2 separate regions of the Homo sapiens genome follow, and region 2 is linked to region 1. The links are contacts of gene promoters, found by promoter capture Hi-C in human tissues and cell types (Jung and others, 2019). All regions are on one chromosome and are shown on one strand. Each heading gives the region's core, a stretch centred on a gene start or on the middle of the fragment in contact. The rest is flanking DNA. Distances are from core to core; before and after follow the strand shown.

Evidence for each region. Contacts are between HindIII fragments. The study calls those that stand out against the background at their distance.
Region 2: a fragment that was not itself captured here is called in contact with the fragment with the promoter of LURAP1L in region 1 in 2 of the 25 tissues and cell types used here (dorsolateral prefrontal cortex and mesenchymal stem cells).

The regions. Positions count from the first base shown.
Region 1 is chr9:12,773,526-12,776,781 of GRCh38, reverse strand. It overlaps LURAP1L (leucine rich adaptor protein 1 like), which reads right to left and starts at 1,762. Exons shown (of 2, transcript NM_203403.2): 1 at 755-1,762. The coding sequence starts at 1,066. All of the region lies in intron 2 of LURAP1L-AS1 (LURAP1L antisense RNA 1), which reads left to right. The HindIII fragment of the contact is 5,707 bases long and covers 1,186-3,256 here.
Region 2 is chr9:12,955,579-12,958,834 of GRCh38, reverse strand. No RefSeq gene overlaps it. Among named protein-coding and RNA genes, the nearest start is that of SNORD137, 15 kb to the left of the region's middle. The HindIII fragment of the contact is 8,924 bases long and covers 1-3,256 here.

The sequences.
Region 1 (3,256 bases), core at 513-3,012:
TTTGCAAACAGCAGGGAAAACAACTGCAGATTGAGACTTGAGGGAGAAGGGTGGGAGATGGTCCTTAGCAGATCCCTGGGCCTGGGGATCACCTGCTCCCTGGGATCAAAATAGTGAAACAAGCTATTCATAAGTACATCAAGGACGAGTAGGCCATTGTTTTCAGAACCAGCTGTGGAGAATCTGCTCGACAGTGGCCTTGGAACAGCTGCGGCTGCTGCACCAAGAAGGGAGGGCAGGAGGGCGGAGCGGTACTGGTGGAAGGGTGAGCTAGGAGGAAAGGCTGCAAGGACCCTGCCACGCCACCTCCCGGCAAACCAGGAAGTATTTTTGCAGTAAGTGCATTGGACTGAGCCACCTTTTGAACCTACCCGAAGTGTTAACAGCGCACAGCAGGCCTTAGATGGGTGCAATAACTGCAAACTCTCAACGGGCTGGTGCCTAAGAGGCTACGGGCTGGCAGCTAAATAGAGCCCGGCGCAGTGAGTCGCGTTGTCCGAAAGTACACAGAGTGGAGCCAGCCGACTGTGCTGTCTTTGCAAACCGTGACCGAGCAAAGTCCGCGGTAAACAAGCCTCGCAGCAGCTGCCTCCGGATGAGCGCCCCCTGCTCATTCCTCCACCCAGCATTTCCCACGCGCCCAGCGCTCCGCTCTGCAGCCCCTGCCGTCCTCTCTCCCAGCCCCATTCTCAGATCGCCCCATCTTTTGGCCCAGCCCAGGTCCCAGCCCCCGCGGCTGGCGCACCACACTCACCATCTCTTGCCTGAGGAGGTGAAGCTTGGTTTCTAGCCTCTCCAGGGCGCTAGAGTGGCTACCTCGTGGGGAGCCAGAGGTTGGGGAGGACGAAGAGGAGGACGACAAGGAGGGAGGGAAGCTGCAGTAGCTGCTGCTGCTACTGCAGCCGCCGCCGCCGCCGCCACCACCACCGCTCCCCCCGCAGGGGTCCCTGTCCCTTTCCCTGGGAACCGGCTCCTCCCCACGGAGAGAGCGCACTAGACTCTCGGGTACTTTGCGCCCCAGCTTCAGCTCGATGTCTCTGAGGTCTGGCAGCGGGCTGTCTTCCATGACTTTTCCGGAACGGCGATAATAGTAATAAAACGCAGCAGATGAAAGGCAGCCACGGCTTCGAAGGCTGCTGCGAAATCAGCAGACCTCTCCGGGGGCCAGGGTCTCTATCCTCCGCCGCTCCGGTGTACCGTCCTTTCCATAACCGCCTATGCGGTATCAGCCCTGAAATCCGCACAGGACGCGGGGGGTCGCAGCTGCAGTTCCCAGTCCGCTGCGACTCCTCCGACACTAAGATGATCAAGATCTCCTCATTCTCTCTCTTTTTGGCCACCTCACTGCAAAGTTGAGTTCACTGATATTGCAGACAGAGGGGGAATAAAGAGGGGGAAGTAGTGAAAGAAAAGAGAGGGAAATTAAATCTGTTTTAGCTTTACCAAGGGAAAATTTTCACATTATAAAACCGTCCGTTCACATCCCTGCGCCGCTCACTGACTGCCCATCTGGTACTACGCGACACAAAATAATGATGCAGCCAGAAACGATGTCCTGGGTCGTTTCATTTTCCAGCCATATGCCTCCAAGCTTTCGGGATATCCTGGGTTGTCAGAAATAATCTCTGGTCAGTGAAAGAGGAGTTCGGTCGTGTGCATGGACCCATAAAAAAGAGCTAGTTAGCTTAGCAGGAGTTTAACGGCTTCCTTGATGCAGCAAAAATGTCCTTCTTCCCATTTAGGCTGTTTGATCCAAGTCATTGTGTTCCTCTGAGCCTCGGAAACTTTAAACTCCGCTGGCAGGTGGACCAAACCAGGACCAACCCTTCTACCGTATATCACAGACAAGAAGAGCAACCGGAATTTTCCCAACCCTGTCGCTAGTAGCAGAGTTTCAAAGCCCTGCTTTAGTTAGGAATACCAGTTGATTTTTCAGTTTTCCTGACTAGCTACAACCTTTAAAACAGGTTTTAAAATGAGAGATAGAGGAATGACTTTATATTTGGTGTCTTCGTTTCCCATCTCTCTACCTTCCTCAAAGGAAAAACAAACAGAAAACCTCTCTTTAGAAGACTTTCCTAATAATTTTATTCTAATAAAAAGAGTGAAACAATTTCATCAAAAGTTCAATGGAAATGTACAATCAAAATTAATTATCCTACCAACTGTTACAGTATGCAAACAAAAGTGAAAAATTAAATAGCCAGAATAACTTACATGACTGCTGAGATAGCAGTGAAATTTTAAGAACAAGCAATTGCTGAGATACTTACTTTTATTTTAATTATGGAAGAAAAAATATTGGGAATAACTATTTAAAATGTTGTCTTCTTTGATAATTTATCTATAAATTAATTTATAGATTTTTTCAACTATACAAATTGTACAATTAATTGTATAGTTGAACAATTGTACAATTTATTAATTTGTACAATTGTACAATTCATTAATCTGAAATACTTCTACCAAGTAAGTTATTATGAGCTACATGGATTACAGATCTGAATCAGCATTGAGTTTGTGTCAAAAATGTTTAAGTAGAGGATACTAATTTCAATCCAGTAAACTACAATTTTTGATTTCCATTGAAATATTTCAAAGTATGTGCCCCTCTATTTCTGTGACATATAAGTATTTGTGTTCCTGGTCACTCCGAGGCTCCATTTCCAGAGACATCATTCAGGTTTTACACTTGTAGGAACATAGGTATATACATCTCAGAGTTTGTTTTTATCATATCTGACTCTAGGAAACCTTATACGTAGAGGAAACATACGCATTCTAAATGAAATATTTCATGTCAGGGAAAAAATGCTGAACTTTCTATCAACATGCCAGAAATTTGCATGCTATTTCTCCCTTTTAAAAAGAAATGAAGAAAATAGTTATAAGTTAGATGACCCATTTCAAAGTTAGAACTACCACTTACAGAATCAAGGGAAAACAAGACCAAATCCCAGCTAACTGATAAAACTACATGCTTGGTCCTAAATTTGGAAAAACACAAGCTCGTTGCATAAGAATTGCACTGTGGCATGTAATTATGAAAGGCTTGTGTTTCAGTCAAGAACAGTTTATTATTACAAAACCCTTACAAAGTTCAGCATAAGGCTGGCTAAGTGCAGTTTATAGATGAAATATCTAGCTAGAAATTGGTCAGTAAAAAACAAATGTCAAATTATCGTGTGTCAATATAGAAAAATGGGACACCTCTTCTGCTATGAATCACAGACTGCAAAATCAGTATTTGAGGCTG
Region 2 (3,256 bases), core at 462-2,961, 180 kb before region 1:
TACCCTTAACTTAACCCAGCTCATTATAATGTCATTAACATGATATTAGCATTGCAGTTTTAGCCTCCTCCACCATGTGTGTTTCAGTTAGGCACTCATGGGTAATAACCAAGATGGAGTTACCATGACCAACTCCAGGCATGCACAGATACAACACCCCTAGGAGGTGTATCTATTGTATCTCTGCCCTCTCCCATTTAGGCAGAACCCACAGAAGACTTCCTTGTTCTTGCCACATAAAACACCCAGAACTCAGCCCCATTGCTTACAACCCACTTTCAGGGTCCCCTTTCACTGCTTGGAGCTTTCCTTTTGCTTAATAAATTCTGCTCTGCCTTACTCACCCACTGGTGTCTGCGTGCCTTGTTCTTCTTGGTCGTGGGACAAGAGGCTGTACCTCATTGAACAGGGGAAAAGGGGACTGCAACAAAAGGAAACATAAATTCATGTTAGAGAGAGTTTGTTAATATGGGAGTACTTTTCTGCGATATGATATTTAATGCCATGATTAGAATTTTGGTAGATACAACTAACATGCTGTTAGGGTGAACTTGGAATATTCTGAGTTCTTGGAACAAGTGAAATTTTCCACTAAATAAAGTAGAAATGCAAGAAACTCTGTGCCATATTGAGGAGGAGGGAATCAAGAGGCTTAGAGGACCGGACATTTTGAAGTAGATAGAATACATAAAGCTGGAAAACCCACCAACAAGGTATGTTCTGTAGAGGGCCTGGAAAATATGCTATTATAGACCTAAGCTCCATGATACCACTGGGGATGAGAGAACCTGAGACAATAGAGTGCAGATGGAGAGCAAAATGTGTATAATGACTGTAATAAGTGGCAAAGGTTGGAATTTGAACTAGGGGTCCTGACTTACAGAGAATTTGGAAATGCTTAAGAGAGAATAATGTCCCAGGGGCAAGATAAATGGGCAGTCAATAAAATCAGTTTTTTGACAAGCATATTGCTTAATTTGTATTACCAAAATAAATTAGGAAACTGAAGGCAGCTAAAGTCTCAGGCTTGGAAATGCTAGGCCTATACCCCTTGCTGGGTATGTCAACTGAAATCTCAGTTCCCAACAAAAGAGAGGAGAGAGGGAAAAGGAAGGATAAGAGGATAAGGAAAAGTGAGAAGGGTGAAGGAGGAAATGACAGTCAAATGTCTTCACCATGGGCCAGGTGCGATGGCTCACGCCTGTAATCCCAGCACTTTGGGAGGCCGAGGTGGGTGGATTACAAGGTCAGGAGATGGAGACCATCCTGGCTAACTAGGTGAAACCCCCACTCTACTAAAAATACAAAAAATTAGCTGGGCGTGGTGGCACGTGCCTATAGTCCCAGCTACTTGGGAGGCTGAGGCAGGAGAACTGCTTGAACCCAGGAAGTGGAGGTTGCAGTGAGCCGAGATTGCACCACTGCACCCCAGCCTAGGTGACAGTGAGACTCTGTCTCAAAAAAAAAAAAAAAAAACACAAAAATTCTCCACTATGAACATACTCCTCCCTCTCCCCAAACATGCACCGCAATGGAAAGTCTCATTCAGCTTCCTTTTTATTTGTTGTGTGGTCCACTATACTTTGTCTCCTGATCCAGACATTTTATTTTATTGTATTTATTTATTTATTTAGATGGAGTCTCACTCTGTCGCCCAGGCTGGTGTGCAGTGGTGCGATCTCGGCTCACTGCAACCTCCGCCTCCTGGGTTCAAGTCATTCTCCTACCTCAGCTTCCCAAGTAGCTGGAACTACAGACATGCAACACCAGGCCCAGCTAATTCTTTTGCAACACCAGGCCCAGCTAATTTATTTGTATTTTTAGTAGAGATGGGGTTTCATCATACTGGCCAGGCTGGCTAATCCAGATATGTTAAAATGCAGGAAGTAAAAGAGGGACATAAAGAATTGAATAGATCTGGTATTCTTTTCTTTTAGTCTGAGGATAGAGAGGAAATAGTTGTGTATTTTCTTCCCCTATCATTCAATGCAAACAGAGACAGATATAGATATAAAAATAAATTTATTCCAAAAAGTAATTTTGGAGTTTAAGTGTTCCTCAAAATGCATGTTCTCATCTGAGAATTTCATTCTGAAAACAGACTTAATAAAGCTGAAATACTGTGCATTTGTGTTAAGTAAAAAAAAAATTGTTTTTATAATACCCATATGTAGTAGTGTTAAAATATGCCTAAAAATTCTTTGATATTTCTCCTTTCAAAAGACGGAGCTTAGAGGAGGAACTGAGTGAGCACAGATGAGCAGTGTATAGAGACTCACATTGTGAACTTTTGCTCCAAGAACTACTGCAGGAACATACCAGGAAAGCCGAGAGAATCCACAGACCTTTAAAGGAAGTGGCTTGCCACTGCAGGCTCCATGAGACAGCAAAAAAACTGAGTGCTAAAAGTGTGAGGGGGGAAATTTCACCTTTGAACACACATCCTCACTGGGGAACCTGAAGGTCCAGATCTCTGGAAAAGGATTTGACCTTAGCTGGAGCTAAGATAAATTTAGAGAGGCGAGCAAAATATAGTGGTAGAAGAAGCATCAGGAAGAGTCCTGTGGGCACTTTCAGTCCCCATGGAAGCCATTCCTGACTTTGTCTCATAGGGGTCCTTGAGTGGGGATGGGGGCGGGCTGCCAGTGGAACTGGGGAAAGACCACAGGGAGAAGGAAATTTCCAGCTGACGTTTGTAACAATTTTGACCCAGCATGACGTTTCCTGGACAGAATCCGCGGAGGGGGCAAATGAGGAGTGCAGATACCAGCACAGAAGCCATGGCAGGTGGGGAGGGGTGAAACCGGAAAGCCCAGCTTGCTTTCTCAGCAGGGAGGCTTGTAGCCTGGGGCAAGTTCTCAGCCCTGCCCACCAGCTGCCTGGAAATAAATTCGGTGCTGTTGGGGGAGCACAGTGGGAGTGAGACTGGTCTTTTGGGCTGCGTGGGAGCTGGGTGAGGCTTGTCATTGCCAGCTTTCTCGCACTTCCCTGGAAACCTGTGGGACACAGCAGAGACAGCCATAATCCCTCTGGGAACATAACTCCATTGACCTGATACCTACACCCCCATCCCTACAGAGGCCCCAGCAAGCTTTGCCCCAGAAGAGTGAGTTCAGACACGCCTAACCATCCCTCACCTGATGGTCTTTCTCTACCCGCTCTGGTAGCCGAAGACAAAGAATATAATCTCTTGGGACCCCACCCACCACCTGACCCTAGAGCATGCTTGCATCCTCCCTATTCTACTGCAGCTGAT